Regions from separate parts of the Homo sapiens genome. Here region 2 is linked to region 1. The links are contacts of gene promoters, found by promoter capture Hi-C in blood cells and fetal thymus (Javierre and others, 2016). All regions are on one chromosome and are shown on one strand. Each heading gives the region's core, a stretch centred on a gene start or on the middle of the fragment in contact. The rest is flanking DNA. Distances are from core to core; before and after follow the strand shown. Region 1 holds the start of RABL6 (RAB, member RAS oncogene family like 6). Region 2 holds the start of ENTPD2 (ectonucleoside triphosphate diphosphohydrolase 2).

What was found. The method cuts DNA at HindIII sites, captures the fragments that hold promoters and counts their contacts. A CHiCAGO score of 5 or more calls a contact.
Region 2: a contact is called between a fragment that was not itself captured here and the fragment with the promoter of RABL6 in region 1, in 1 of 17 cell types (endothelial precursors). The highest score is 5.1, in endothelial precursors.

Annotation. Positions count from the first base shown.
Region 1 is chr9:136,806,698-136,814,091 of GRCh38, reverse strand. RABL6 (RAB, member RAS oncogene family like 6) reads right to left here and starts at 6,144. Exons shown (of 15, transcript NM_024718.5): 1 at 5,766-6,144. The coding sequence starts at 5,895. It overlaps CCDC183 (coiled-coil domain containing 183), which reads right to left. Exons shown (of 14, transcript NM_001039374.5): 12 at 7,225-7,335; 13 at 7,026-7,122; 14 at 6,351-6,520. The coding sequence ends at 6,402. CCDC183-AS1 (CCDC183 antisense RNA 1) reads left to right here and starts at 5,244. Exons shown (of 5, transcript NR_024580.1): 1 at 5,244-5,365; 2 at 6,890-7,263. It also overlaps the pseudogene LOC100422233 and the pseudogene NCLP1. RefSeq lists silencers at 5,333-5,862, 5,873-6,002, 6,023-6,082, 6,133-6,302, 6,503-6,732 and enhancers at 6,008-6,604, 6,605-7,200. The HindIII fragment of the contact is 3,360 bases long and covers 5,026-7,394 here.
Region 2 is chr9:137,053,338-137,060,731 of GRCh38, reverse strand. ENTPD2 (ectonucleoside triphosphate diphosphohydrolase 2) reads left to right here and starts at 6,671. Exons shown (of 9, transcript NM_203468.3): 1 at 6,671-6,851. The coding sequence starts at 6,735. It overlaps LOC105376327 (a long non-coding RNA gene), which reads right to left. Exons shown (of 2, transcript XR_930455.2): 2 at 7,357-7,394. RefSeq lists silencers at 6,436-6,515, 6,616-6,685. The HindIII fragment of the contact is 1,265 bases long and covers 4,489-5,753 here.

The DNA.
Region 1 (7,394 bases), core at 4,895-7,394:
GCTGAAGACCTGGAAAGAGCCTTGGAACTCGCTGGTTTGAAAGACTTTGGCAATGAAATTAAACTAGAGAAACCAAAAGGAAAAGACAGTAAGAAAGAGCAAGATGTGAGAATACTTTTGGCTACAAATCTCCCTTACAAAGTCACTCAGGATGAATTACAAGTGTTTTGGCTGGGCGCAGTGGCGCAGTGGCTCACACCTGTAATCCCAGCACTTTGGGAGGCCAAGGCAGGCAGATCACGAGGTCAGGAGATCAAGACCATCCTGGCTAACACGGTGAAACCCTGTCTCTACTAAAAATACAAAAAATTAGCTGGGTGTGGTGACGGGTGCCTGTAGTCCCAGCTACTCGGGAGGCTGAGGCAGGAAAATGGCGCAAACTTGGGAGGTGGAGCTTGCAGTGAGCTGAGATCACGGCCACTGCACTCCAGCCTGGGCAACAGAGCGAGACTCTGGCTCAAAAAACAAAAAAGTGTTTGAAGATGCTGTGGAGATTGGATTAGTCAGCAAGGATGGGAAGAGTAAAGGGACTGCTTATATTGAGGTTAAGACAGAAGCTAATGCAGAGAAAACTTCTGAAGAAACGCAGGGAACAGAGATGGATGGCCGATCTATTTCCCTGCACTATCATGGAGAGAAAGGTCTAAATCAAGACTAGAGAGACCACTTGGAGGGGTGAATCAAAAACTCTGGTTTAAGCAACCTCTCCTACAGTGCAACAGAAGAAACTCTTCAGAAAGAATCTGAGACAAGGCAACTTTTATCAAAGTGCCCCAGAACCAAAATGGCAAATCTAAAGGGTGTGCATGCACTTACAGTTCGCTTCATTTGAAGATGATAAAGCAGCTTTAAATTCCTGTAATAAAAGGGAAACTGGGGGCAGGGCAATCAGGCTGGAGTTGCAAGGACCACCTGATGCCAGGAGCCAGCCATCTAAAACTGTCTGTCAAAGGCCTGTCTGAGGACACCACTGAAGAGGCTTTAGTCATTCGACAGCTTTGTTGGGCAAGGGTAGTCACCAACCAGGAAACCGGGTGCCCCAAAGGCTTTGGCTCTGTAGATGGCAACAGTGAGGAGGATGCCAAAAGCGCCAAGGAGGCCGCGGAAGATGGTGAAATTGAGGGAAACAAAGGTAACTTGGACTGGGCCAAACCTAAGGGCGAAGGTGGCTTTGGGGTTGTGATGGAGGTAGAGGAAGCTTTGGAGGATGAGGTGGTGGCAGAAGCCAGGAAGGCTTTGGTGGGCGAGGCAGCTTCTGGGGAGGCAGAGGTGACCACAAGCCACAAGGAAAGAAGACAAAGTTTGAACGGCTTCTGTCCCTTTGTCTTTCCCTCTCCCATTTGAAAGAAAGGACGCTGGGGTTTTTATTCCGTTACCTGATCAATGACAGAGCTCTCTGAGGACATTCCAAGACAGTCTACAGTCCTGTGGTCTCCTTGGAAATTCGTATAGACAACATTTCAAGGGTAATACCTTCCTTGTTTGTTTTGACTGGATATTCATATAAACTTTTCTTTCTTTTCTTTTTTTTTTAAGACGAAGTCTCACTCTGTCGCCCAGGCTGGAGCGCAGTGGTGTGATCTTGGCTCACGGCAACCTCTGCCTCCCGGGTTCAAGCGATTCTCCTGCCTCAGCCTCCCGAGTAGCTGGGATTACAGGCATACGCCACCACACCTGGCTAATTTTCATATTTTCAGTAGAGATGAGTTTCATCATGTTGGCCAGGTTGGTCTTGAACTCCTGACCTCATGTAATCCGCCCACCTCAGCCTCCCAAAGTGCTGGGATTACAGGTGTGAGCCACCGTGCCCGGCCTGCTAAGTCCCATTTCTAAATTCGCACCAGTGTCTACTCAGAGAGGACTCTGGTTGTCCGAGCTCCTGGGCCAGGCCAGTATCAGAGCTGCACAATAATGCTCACTCAGGAGCAACTCCACAGAAAAATTCTGCACCAAATACAACTGATATTTTGTGTCCAGTCACAGTAGAAAGGGACAGACCAACTCAGGCAACAATCTTTCTTCCAAATAATTTCAAATAATTTTCCTAATAATTTTATATGCAAATAATTTCAAAATTGTGTAAACCAAAATTAAAATCCCAAGGCCTGCCAACCATCTGAATGGACTTCCTCTTCTAGGCCAGGGCCATCCAAATTTCATCTGAAAGACTGGTTCAGGCCATTATGGGAAGAGGGGAGTCAGACAGGCCTCATTGTGGCCTCCTCCCTTCTGGAATTCAGGAAAAGCTCACCAGCATTTAACATCAACACTGACTTTAAGTCTGATAAGAAACATAATCTGGCCAGGCGCGGTGGCTCACGCCTGTAATCCCAGCACTTTGGGAGGCCAAGGGGTTCGGACTGCTTGAGTAGAGGGGTCTGAGCCCAGCTGGGCAACGTGGTGAAACCCTGTCTCTCTAAAAAATACCAAAATTAGCTGGGTGTGGTGGTGCAATTGTTTTTTTTTTTTTTTTTGAGACAGGGTCTGACTCTGTCACCCAGGCTGGAGTGCAGTGGCACAATCTCAGCTCACTGTAACTTCTGCCACTTGGGCTCAAGCGATTCTCCCGCCTCAGCCTCCTGAGTAGCTGGGATTACAGGCACCCACCATCACACCCGGTTAATTTTTATAGTTTTAGTAGAGACGGGGTTTCGACATGTTGGCCAGGCTGGTCTTGAACTCCTGGCCTCAGGTTGTCCGCCTGCCTCGGCCTCTCAATGTGCTGAGATTACAGGCGTGAGCCACCGCGCCCGGCAAAAAAACACAATTTTTTTAAACTACCTCCGACCTGGAAGCCCCCACTTCAAGTTGTCCCGCCTTTGTGGACCAAATCAACATATATCTTAAATGTATTTGATTACTGTCTCATGTCTAAAATGTATAAAACCAAGCTGTGCCCTCCACCTTGGGCACATGTCCTCAGGGTCACCTGAGGGCTATGTCACGAGCCATGGTCACTCATATTCAGCTCAAAAATAAATCTCTTCAAATATTTGACAGAGTTTGACTTTTTCATCCATTATGGTCCAATGTCTCATTCGAGTTTTTATTCTAAAACCAGTGGGTGTCCCACACGTCTACCGGGACCACTAGCAACTCCGAGCAAATGCAGGGCCCAGGAGGAGAGCCCAGACTCCTGGAAACCCGCAGCAGTTCCCAGAAACTCTCACCCCCAAAACCCTCGACTCTGTCTTGATCACATTGCTGGTCTGTTACGCTCTGTAAAATATTTGAGAAAATAAATACCAGAAAGCCGGGCATGGTGGCTTACGCCTGTAATCCCAGCACTTTGAGAGGCTGAGGCGGGCAGATCACGAGGTCAGGAGATTGAGACCATCCTGGCTAACACGGTGAAATCCTGCCTCTACTAAAAATACAAAAAATTAGCCGGGCGTGGTGGCCGGTGCCTATAGTCCCAGCTACTCGGGAGGCTGAAGCAGGAGAATGGTGTGAACCCGGGAGGAGGAGCTTGCAGTGAGCTGAGATCACGCCACTGCACTCCAGCCTGGGAGACACAGCAAAACGCAAAACTCTGTCTCAAAAAAGAAAAGAAAAGAAAAGAAATACTAGAAACTTTCTATTCTAACACAGAAACTCAAAAGTTTTAAAATTGCATGTTATTCAGCTATAAAGATAACATCTTTCTAAAATGTAATTTAGGTACAAATTCAAATTTCTCTCTGTCTCACCACCTTTCATTCAGTTCTAGGAGATCATAACCTGTTCTCCAAGTACTGGAGACTGGCTTTTCTCCTCTGGAAGGACCCCATTGCCCTTTTTAGTCACACTCGCCCAGGACCACACAGGGGTGGTCCTGGTGCATGAGGTGGACCTTGCCCAGGACCCTCGGGGAGCCTTTTCAGAAGGTGAACAGTTTCCAGGTCCAGGCCTGATTTCCCAGGGACTAATACTGAGCTTAGCCAATACTGTAAGCAATAAAATTAAATAAAGGATCCAAACGCAGAGTCTAAAAACTGGCGTAAACTCAGTTATTTTGACTCAATATTCTCTTCTCCGAATGCCAGCTATGTATAAAGTTTCAATTATAACACATTTAAAATCAGCTTTTATTTTTATTCAAAATGCACCACTTTATTTTCCTTACCAGACAGCCAAGCATTAAGCACGTTCCAGTCACGTGACTTCTTCAGCGAGCCCCCAGGCTTCCACTCCACGGGAGTCTGGGAGCTCCTGGACAGAGGAGTCCTGAGATTTCAAATAGTCAAGCCTTCTCCCCAGCCACAAGTTCCTTTGATGCTTGGGTTACTGAACACAAACGCAATGGATTGTTTGTCTTCAACATAATCCGTTTCTGTTCCTAAACGTGTTGGCTGCGCTTTCTTTCTGATGAGCACGCTGACTCTAATTTGAACTTCATCAAAATCTTCTTTGTCGTCGTATGTTCTAGAGTATAAGAAAAGCCAATACGGCCCTTGGTTCGGACATCAACTTTCTTTTAAATTTTTTTTTCGTATTTTTAGTAGAGACGGTGTTTCACTATGTTGGCCAGGCTGGTCTCGAATTCCTGACCTCGTGATCTGCCCGCCTTGGCCTCCCAAAGTGCTGGGATTACAGGCATGAGCCACCGTGCCCGGCCCGGACACCAACTTTCATACCTAGATGCTCAGACTTATCTTTAAGAAGTTGTTTTATCTTGCTTACTGCTAAAGGTGTCTGGGTGAGGGTGGCCCGAGTGGTCTGCAGCTTCCTCTTGCTCACAGGCCGGGGGACTAAGGAAGGCGACATCTTCACTGTCCTCCTGGACTAGCTCCAGCCCCAGGAACTACGGCCTCTCTCCGTGCACACGGCACGCGAATTCATGAACTTGCTTTTAAACCTGCACAAGAGTCTTTCTGATCATTAGTTCTTAAAATTCTACATTACCATGGAAATATCACGGAGGCTCTAAGGCTCCCCTTAAAGTGACCAAAAAACTGGATAGGCGTAGCGTCCTAAAACCTCATAGAAACATACGGAAATGGCTAAGAGGGAAGCAATGTCAAAACAGGGAACCACATAAAAGCTTTCAAAAACTACTGGGAAAGAGCCCGCAAGATGGAAAAACTCATAAGAGGTCGAGGACAATTTACACAATTTATAACAAAGGAATGGAGCGTCCCAGGCACTCAGGAGTCCGTAAATGACTCCTCCTTCCTACGAGAAATGGGATGTCTCCTACAGTCGCAAGTCAGCCCGTGCCTTCTGGAGCTTTTCTAGATACGTCTCTTACAAACGCTTCTTTTAAAAAAAAAGGCGAGAATGTGTGGCGTAGCTAATATTCTGTCTTCAAACTCAGTAGGAAGTCAACAAAGAAAAATCCCGCTGAAAGCGCCAAGGCCGGCTGGGTTCCCCGCACCTCCTGCAGGTGAGTGGTGCCCGGGGCTGGGCACCGTGGAGCGTCGGGGGCGCGGCGCCCCGGGCCGGCGGGCCCTGCTTGGCATTATGTAATCACCCCCGGGCCGGGCAGCCGGGCCAACCCCGCCGCCGCCGACCCGCTCCACTGCACAGCGCGGCGGGAGCGACACGCGGCAGGCGAGTGCGGCTGGGAAACGACCCGCGGCTCGGGGGCCGCGAGGACCCGGCCCTGGCCTGGCCTCTCCTCGCGTCCCCTGGCCCGCGCCCCCGCTCCCGGAGCGCCCGGCGGGCCCAGCGCACCCCACAACCGGCAAGCAGGTGAGACCGACACCCACCACCGCGCGGCGCCCGGGGCCTGGGTTCGGAGACCCGCGCGGCGCTCCCGCGCCCCCCCGGCCCGCCGCACTCACTGTTGTACTGCACCCCCTTGGCGAAGCGCCTCTGCAACGCCTGGTTCATGGACTGCAGCCCGGCGGGGATGTTCTTGTCCCGGCCCGGGGCCTGGTCCGACCCCACCAGCTTCTTCAGGGCGGAAAACATCTTCCCGCTCGGACGTCCCAGCCCGGGCGCGGCCGGCGAGCTCAGCGGCGGCGGGGAAGGGGTGCGACTGGCACCATGTCCCGGCGGCCCCGGCCCCCCCGGAGGCCGGAGCCGGCGCGGCCAGAGGCCGGGGTCCCGGCGGCGGAGCGCAGCCCCGAGCGGCGACTCGGGAACCTCAGCCGCGGCTGCTCCGCTCCGGCCCCCGCGGCCTCCGGCGCGACCGCTCTCCAGGAGTCAGCGCCGCCATCTTGGCGCCGGCTCGGCGGGACGGGAGGGGTGCGCGGCTACGGGGCGCCGCGAGGGCCGCGGGGGCGCGGCGCGCGCGGTCGGCGCATGCGCACGCGGTTCTGGCGCGCAGTTCCGGGCCCGGGCTGCCTCCTTACGCAGAACCTCCCCCGATCCTGCGTGTCCCGTGCTCCTCTCCGAGACCCCGGTCGCCCCAGCGTCCGCAGCAGTCCTGGAAAAATGTTTATTTGTGTAGCAAAGCAGGGAGCGGGGCGGCGGGGCTACTTCTTCTTTTTCTTGGCCGCCTTGAGCTTCCCCTCGATTAGCCGCTGCGCCTGCCTCTTGATCTCGGCGCGCGAAGGGACGTAGCTGTGGTCCATGTCGGGGAACTGGAAGGTGTCTGCGGGCGGAGGCGGCGGCTCGCACACGGGGCTAGCCCAGCTAGGCGCAGCCGCCCGACCCGCCTCTCGCCCCCGCCCTCCACCGACCCGGGCCAGGTGCCTTGCCCCAGGGACAGCCCCAGCGTGCCGGGAGGACTCAGCCCAGCCCATTCGCAGCGGCTCACGCTGCCCTGCCTAGCCTTTCCCGCAGAACCCCCAGTGGAAGCTCCGGCCCAGGCCTTCACCGCGCTCCTCCCTGCTCCAGCCCTGGTGCCTCTCCTCCGGGCCCGTCTGGCATGGCATGCCTCCTCCTTTCGGAGAAATTAACAAGGTATTTCAGTGGCTTTAGCCTCCCCATGGCATCACTAAGTCACCTCCATCAATTAAAGTCCTGCAGGTACAACTGATGCACCCTGTAGCCCCGCTGTCCCTCCAGGATGTCCCGGTGGGATGGGAGCCGGCGCCACCCCGACCTGTGTTCCAGCCACCCGCCTGCAGCCCGGGCCCCAGTTCCGGGGCCTGTACCGATCATATCCTCCTCCCGGTTCTCAAAGCTGATCCTGGTGTTGTACTTCTCCATCAGAGTCGAGGACTCCAGGGTGTCCCTCACCTTTGTGTCGCCCTGCAGGGCAAAGCCCCCTTCAGCCGTGCAGACACTCTGAACGGGAGCCTGTCAGCTTTGAGGGGACGTGGGCTGTGCAGGTTCCTCCCAGCCCGGGGCTACCTCCTCGGTCCTGGACACCATCTGCACTCTGTCAGCCAGGTACGTGAGCTTCCCCTCGCAGTACGCCAGCTTGCTGTTCAAATCGAGGGTGTTGGAGAGCACCACTTCTCTCTGTAGGCCGGGAGGAGGGTCTCATCTCCCCTCTGGCCCTGCCCAGGGACCTGGTGTGT
Region 2 (7,394 bases), core at 3,872-6,371, 250 kb before region 1:
GGAATAAAAAAGAGCAAAATAGTCACACATGCTGCAGAAGTTAAGCTGATTCTAAGAGGATATTTTAAATGAGATTATGCCAATTCAGCTGGAGTGGGTAACTTCCTAGAAAAATACAAAATCAGCCACATGGGCAGGCTTACGCCTGTAATCCCAGCACTTTGGGAAGCTGACGCGGGAGGACTGCCCGAGCCCAGGAGTTTGGAACCAGCCTGGGCAACACAGGGAGACCCTCCACCTCTACAAAAAATAAAAAAATTGTCTGTGTGTGGTGATGTGCCCCTGTGGTCCCACCTACTCGGGAGGCTGAAGTGGGAGGATCACGTGAGCTCAGGAGACGGAGGTTGCCGTGACCTGTGATTGCACCACGGCACTCCAGCCTGGGCAACAGAGTGAGTCCCTGTCTCTAAAAATAATAATAACAAATCTCAAAAAACAAAAAAGAAAGAAAGAAAAGAAAAAAATACAAAATTGGCTCAGGAAGAATAGTTAATAGGGGTCTGGCCCTGTAACTATCAAAGAAATGGAAACAGTACTGTAGAAGCCAGCACAGTGGCATATGCCTGTAGTCCCAGCTATTCCAGAGGCTGAGGTGGGAGGATTTTTGAAGCTCAGGAGGTTGAGTCTAGCTTGGGCAACATAGTAAGTCTGGTCTCTAACCCATCTCTTAAAGACAAAACAAACAAAAAACTTCCCACAGAAAAATTGGGCCTAGGTGTTTTTTTTTTCAGGCAAGTTTTTTTTTTTTTTTTTTTGAGACAGAGTCTCGCTCTTTCGCCCAGGCTGGAGTGCACTGGCTCGATCTCGGCTCACTGCAAGCTCCTCCTCCTGGGTTCACGCCATTCTCCTGCCTCAGCCTCCCAAGTAGCTGGGACTACAGGCGCCCACCACCACGCCCGGCTAATTTTTTGTATTTTTACTAGAGACGGGGTTTCACCGTGTTAGCCAGGATGGTCTCAATCTCCTGACCTCGTGATCCGCCCGCCTCGGCCTCCCAAAGTGCTGGGATTACAGGCGTGAGCCACCGCACCCGGCCTTTTCAGGCAAGTTCTACCATAAATTGCAGGAACAGATAATCCAAATATTACGCTAATTTAAAAAAAATTAAAGCAATTTTTTTGTTTGTTTGTTTTTGGTAGAGACGAGGTCTCACAATGTTGCCTAGGCCGGTCTCCCAAAGTACTGGGATTACAGGTCAGACCATCATGATATCAAAACCATAGAGGAGGCCAGCCACGGTGGCTCACACCTGTAATCCCAGCACTCTGGGAGGCCGAGGAAGGTGGATCACCCGAGGCCAGGAGTTTAAGACCAGCCTGGCCAACATGGGGAAACCCCGTCTCCACTAAAAATACAAAAATGAGCTGGGTGTGGTGGCACATGCCTGTAGTCCCAGCTACTCACGAGGCTGATGCACAAGAATCCCTTGAGCACGGGAGGTAGAGGTTGCAGTGAGCTGAGATTGAGCCACCGTACTCTAGCCTGAGTGACACAGCAACACCTTGTCTCAAAAAAAAAAAAAAGGCAAAGGGAAGCCAGCCATGGTGTGGACCTGTGGTCCCAGCTACTGCAGAGGCTGAGGCAGGAGGACCATTCGAGGCCAAGAGTTTGAGGCCACAATGAGCTATGATTGCACCACTGCAGTCCAGCCTGGGCAATAGAGCAAGACCCTGTTGCTAAAACAAACAAACCAAAGGCCTGTTACCTACTTACAGGGAAGAGGCAGCAGGTGGCAGGGGAGGGGAGAGACTGTTACCAAAACACCAGGGGTTCAGTCCAGGTCCTGCTGTTCGCTGCACAGAAAGCCAATCACGGAGACCAGGAGCACCGCCAGGGGGAAGGCTTTAAGCCGGCCGCAGCCAAGGAGATGGGTGCTCAGTCTCAAATCCGTCTCCCTGACCCACTGAAATTAGGGGTTTATAGAGCAGGGAAGCCACGTAACTAGGTGTGAGAAAACAGGAATTAGGGGCAGCTGAAGAAGAGGAGTTGGTCAACAGGAAGCTGGTGGTTGGCCAGGCAATCTTGACAGCTGGGGGGTCTGGTGTCTCATTGTCAAGATACCGTGATCTGGTGAGTTTTAGCTCTTTCATTCTATCTGGGGGCCTCATGGTTGGTTTTCTGAGAAAGGAACTCAAATAGGACAAATGTCACTTTCTCAAATTTTAAGACTAGGAGGATCAATTTCTGTGTTTATTCAAAGAAACCATAAACATCAGTTCCACGGGACAATTGAGCCGGTTTCAAAATCAAAGAAGGCCAAAGCCAGGCAGGGTGTGGCACACACCTCTAGTCCCCAGCTACTCAGGAGGACTGCTTGAGGCCAGGAATTTACCAGCCTGGGCAACATAGTGAGGCCCCGGTCTCCAATAAAAGGAGATGGGGGGCTGGGTTTGGTGGCTCACGCCTATAATCTCAGCACTTTGAGAGGCCAAGGCAGGTGGATCACTTGAGGTCAGGAGTTCGAGATCAGCCTGGCCAACATGGCAAAACCCCGTCTCTACTAAACATACAAAAATTAGGCTGGGCACGGTGGCTCATGCCTGTAATCCTAGCACTTTGGGAGGCCGAGATGGGCGGATGCTCAGGAGTTTGAGACCAGCCTGGGAGCAACACAGTGAGACCCCGTCTCTATTAGAATGCAAAAAAATTAGCCTGGTGGCACACGGCTGTAGTCCCAGCTATTTGGGAGGCTGAGTCAGAAGAATTGCTTGAACCAGGAGGCGGAGATTGCAGTGAGCCGAGATCACATCACTGCACTCCAGCCTGGGCAACAGAGGAAGAGTCTGTCTCAAAGTAAATAAATAAAATAAGATAAAATGAAATAAAATGCTCACAGTGCCAGCTAGAGCCATCGTTCAGAAAAGAATTTGGCACTTGCTAGAGAAGCAGAACACACACTTGCCTGACAACCAGCAGTTCAGATCCGGGATGCTCCCCAGAGAAGTGCTCTCAAGAGCACACATGCGGCCGGCGCAGCGGCTCACACCTGTCACCCCAGCACTGTGGGAGGCCGACGCAGACGGAGAGGCCGGGCGCGGTGGCTCACACCTGTCATCCCAGCACTGTGGGAGGCCGAGGCAGGCGGGTCGCCTGAGGTCAGGAGTTTGAGACCAGCCTGGCCAATATGGTGAAACCCTGTCTCTACTAAAAATACAAAATTAGTGGGGAATGGTTATAGGCGCCTGTAATCCGAGTTGCTCAGGAGGCTGAGGCGGGAAATCGCTTGAACCCAGGAGGTGGAGGTTGCAGTGAGCTGAGATCGCGCCACTGCACTCCAGCCTGAGCGATAGGGCCAGACTCCACCTCAGATAAAAAATAAAATTAAAAAAAAGAGTGTATATGTGCAGAGCAGCAATCTCAGCAAAGCCTAAAGCCAGACACTGTGTGTTCACCAGCTGCAGCGACACGCCGTCTGCATGTTCTCACTCACAGGATGGAATACAGCAAGGAACAAACAAGCCACACCTCTCAGTGTCAACAGGGTGAATCCCAAACGCGTAACGTGAGTGAAAGAAGCAAGTCCCAGAACAGCACGTCCAGCACATCAGAGACCACCAATGGGGTCCTGCTGCCACCCTGGCATTGCTCTTACCAACTGTGCATATGTGCACCTCCCATTCTGTTGTGTCTCCGACCTCGAACAGGACAGCACAGGCTTCCCCGCCTCCCGTGGGCCTTTGCAAAGTCTGCTCTCCCCAGGCCAGTGGGTGCCCTCCCCACAGGGCTCCCTGTGCATGCATGGAGCCTGGCGTGCTTTGGGCACCCAGGAGTACTACTCAGCAAGCGTTTGTTGAATGACTTAATGAGCACCTGCAGAAAGGGAGCAGTGAGTGAAAGGCCTTTCACAATTAAACCATCAAGGTGTTTCGGCCACAGCACAAGTTTCTTTTTTTTTTTTCTTTTGAGATGGAATCTCGCTCTGTCGTCCAGGCTGGAGTGCAGTGGTGCAGTCTCAGCTCACTGCAACCTCTGCCTCCCAGGTTCAAGCGATTCTCTTGCCTCAGCCTCCCAAATAGCTGGAATTACAGGTGTCTGCCACTACAGCCGACTAATTTTTTTTTTTTTTTTGACTCGCTCTGTCACCCAGGCTGGAGTGCAGTGGCGCGATCTTGGCTCACTGCAAGCTCCGCCTCCCGGGTTCACACCATTCTCCTGCTTCAGCTTCCCGAGTAGCTGGGACTACAGGTGCCCGCCACCACGCCCGGCTAATTTTTTGTATTTTTAGTAGAGATGGCATTTCACTGCGTTAGCCAGGATGGTCTTGATCTCCTGACCTGATGATCCGCCCGCCTCAGCCTTCCAAAGTGCTGGGATTACAGGAGTGAGCCACCGCGCCCGGCCCACAACCGGCTAATTTTTGTATTTCTATTAGAGACGGCGTTTCACCATGTTGGCCAGGCTGGTCTTGAACTCCTGACCTTAAGTGATCCACCTGCCTCAGCTTCCCAAAGTGCTGGAATTACAGACGTGAGCCACACAGCACAAGCTTCTGATGTGGAGACTGAGGCAGGGCAGCCAAGATGTCAGCAGGCCTCAGGAAAGCCCCCCTCCCTGGGAGGTCTGAGCCCTGCGTGGGCGGGAGGCTCCGAGTTCCCTCCCCCAGGGGTTCTCCCCTAACCTCTCTGCATCCGCATGTTCCCAGCTCAGCCGGGGTCATGTGCAGCACATCTGGAGGCCCCATCCCCGAGAGGGTCCTGGAAGCCGAGAGCTGCCCCACCCAGAGGCCCCTCCACCCCTTCAGCTCCTGCCAGCTTCCCTCTGACGCTCTCCCAAGTCTGCCTTCCAGGGTCCCTGAGTCCATGCCAGGAAGGGGCGTTCCCCCGCCCTCACTCCGTCTCAAAGAGAGCTCAGCCTCAGCCTTTGTCCTGGCCGCTCTGGGCTCCCTGCCTCTCCCTCCGCAGGCGAAGCTGGGCACTCGGCCATGAGCCTGTCTCCCCGGGGCAGAGTCCAGCTCCCCTCTCCCTCCCCATCCTCTCAGGCCTGGCAGACCTCCCACTCCCTGGCTTGAGCTTTTTGTCCATGAAAAGAGTCCAGAACACCAGGAAGCCCCGCTGGGCCTGGAGGGAAGCGGGGTACCGCAGGCCAGTGGGGGTCGCAGCACCCTGCCTCTGGGCGGCCTTTGTTCCTTCCTTTTCAGGCATGATGTGCACTGTGCGTGCCTCTCCCTCCTCTGGGCGGTCAGGGGTGGAAGAAAGGCCTGGGGTGTGTGGGGGGAAACTGGGGCCTGGGGCCTGGAGCTTAGCACCGGCAACACCCAGAGATTGCCTGCTGGAGCCCCGCCAGGCTGGGCTGTGAGGCTGAGGCAGCAGAGAGGCTTCCCAGGGTTCCCACCCCTCCCTTTGGGGTCCTGAGCTGGAAGAAAGATGCCTTTACTGGGCCTGTGGCGCCAGACCCTCAGCCCAGGCAGCAATCCCAGCACAATTGTCACTGCCCGTTCCAGAAGGCCGGGCATGGTCTGGACCCTGCCCCATGGGGCTGCCCTTTGGGCCCCAGCAGCCTGCACTCCCTGGTGGCCTTGCCTCGTGGCTCCCTGACGCTGTGTGGCTGGAATTATTGGGACAAGAATTCCCACTTTGCAGCAGGCGCAAAGGGGGTGGCCCCTGGCCGGGCTGGGATGCGGGGCCTGTGAGGCTGCAGAGCCGAAAGGCCAGCCATGTCGTGGGACGGAGGAGCAGGGCTTGCGTCTGGGGCCAGCTGCGCTTCGCCTGCCCCAGCCGTCCCCAGAAGCCTGTTGCTGACCCGCACCCCAAGCTTGGCCTGGGGACCCTCTTCCTTGCCTTTCAGGCCACGTAGAGGCCCCACCTGTTTCCGTCCTGGGGAAGCCTCCTCTGGCCTCCGCAGCCCAAGCCTCTGTTCCCCTCAGGCCGAGGGGGCAGCAGGCGCGGCTGAGGCCCTGGGCTGGGAGGTATGGACCTTTGGCCCGGTCTGTGCTGCTTCTCCTGTTTCTCGGCTCGGTGTGACCTGGGCCGTCCCTCCCCTTCCCCGTTCCTGCGTCCTCACCTTCACCTCAGTACAGGGCCCAGGTGAGGTGGATCTGACTGGGCCTCAAGGGTAGTTCTGGCCTGGGTCAGCTGCGTGTCTCTGGAGCTGACCTGCGCTGGCTCAGCGCCGCAGGCTGGCGGATCCTTGCTGGCCGGGAGGGCATCCCGCAGGCCAGCCTGGTCCTCACCAGCCCTGGGAGTTGGCGCTCAGGGCCCTGCTCCACAAACAGGTGCTGACCCTCGGCTTCCTCCTGAGTCCCCAGCCCGGGCCCCGCGTGGCTCCGCAGCCGACAGTGCCTCATTCCTGCAAGCGAGTCTGGCCTCCTTTCCCGGGCCCGGGAAAAGCGCGGCTCTCCAGCACAGGACCCTCCGAGCCAGCCTCGCCCGCCCACCCCCACGCCAGGTCTCCTGCCTCCACGGCCGGGGGATCCCCTTGCTGAGTGGGCGGGAAGGGGAAGGTGGGCCATAGCCGCGGGGCGCCCGGGCTCAGACCCGGGAGCCGGGGGGCGGTGCTGGTGACTCAGCCGCGCCCGCGTCTCTCACCTGCGCGGGCCGGACGGCGGAAGCTTGGGAGCGGAGGCGAAACCTGTCCGCCCGTGGGCGTGGCCGGTGATGGGCGGGCCCGCCCGGCCTCCCGCCCCTCGTCCCGCCCCGGGGCCCCTACCCCGCGGTCCCGCGGCCCCGCCCGCCTCCGCCTCCGGCTCCCCGCACTCTCCGGGTCCACGCATCGTCCTCCCGCGCGCCCGCCCGCCCATGGCCGGGAAGGTGCGGTCACTGCTGCCGCCGCTGCTGCTGGCCGCCGCGGGCCTCGCCGGCCTCCTACTGCTGTGCGTCCCCACCCGCGACGTCCGGGAGCCGCCCGCCCTCAAGGTGCGCGCCCGGGCACCCAGCGCACGTCTGGGGAGCAGCGGGCCGGGCTTGGAGCCGGGGAGGGGGTGCGGCTGGGAACCTGAGCAGGATCAGCCCGGGACCCCCACCGTGCTCTGCTCCTGGCGGGCTGGGTGGGGTCCCGGGTTCCGCGCTCTGCGCTCCCCGACCGGGTACGCGGAGGGGGCGGGGGGCGGTGGCGCTTCCAGGGCGACGCGGTGCTGAAGGAACAAGTCCCGGGAGTTCCGCGCCCGCCGCCGAGTCCGTCAACGCAGCCCAGGGGCTGTGTCCCCGCTCCCGGGATAGCCCAGCGATGCCCCCTGGGTGCTGCCGGACGCCCGCCCCCAGGCCTGTGCGGGCCCCCAGGGGCACTCCGGGCCACTTCTGCCCTGTGCCGCCGCCCCGGAGGGTGCGGTTAGAGCCACATCGACTGGGTATTCAGCCCAGATGGGGATCCACAAGCCCCAGGACCCAGGGCCCCCGCCAGGACACGAGAGTGGCCCAGAAAGACAGGAGGGCTTGACCGGAGCAGCCCTGGCCGGTCCT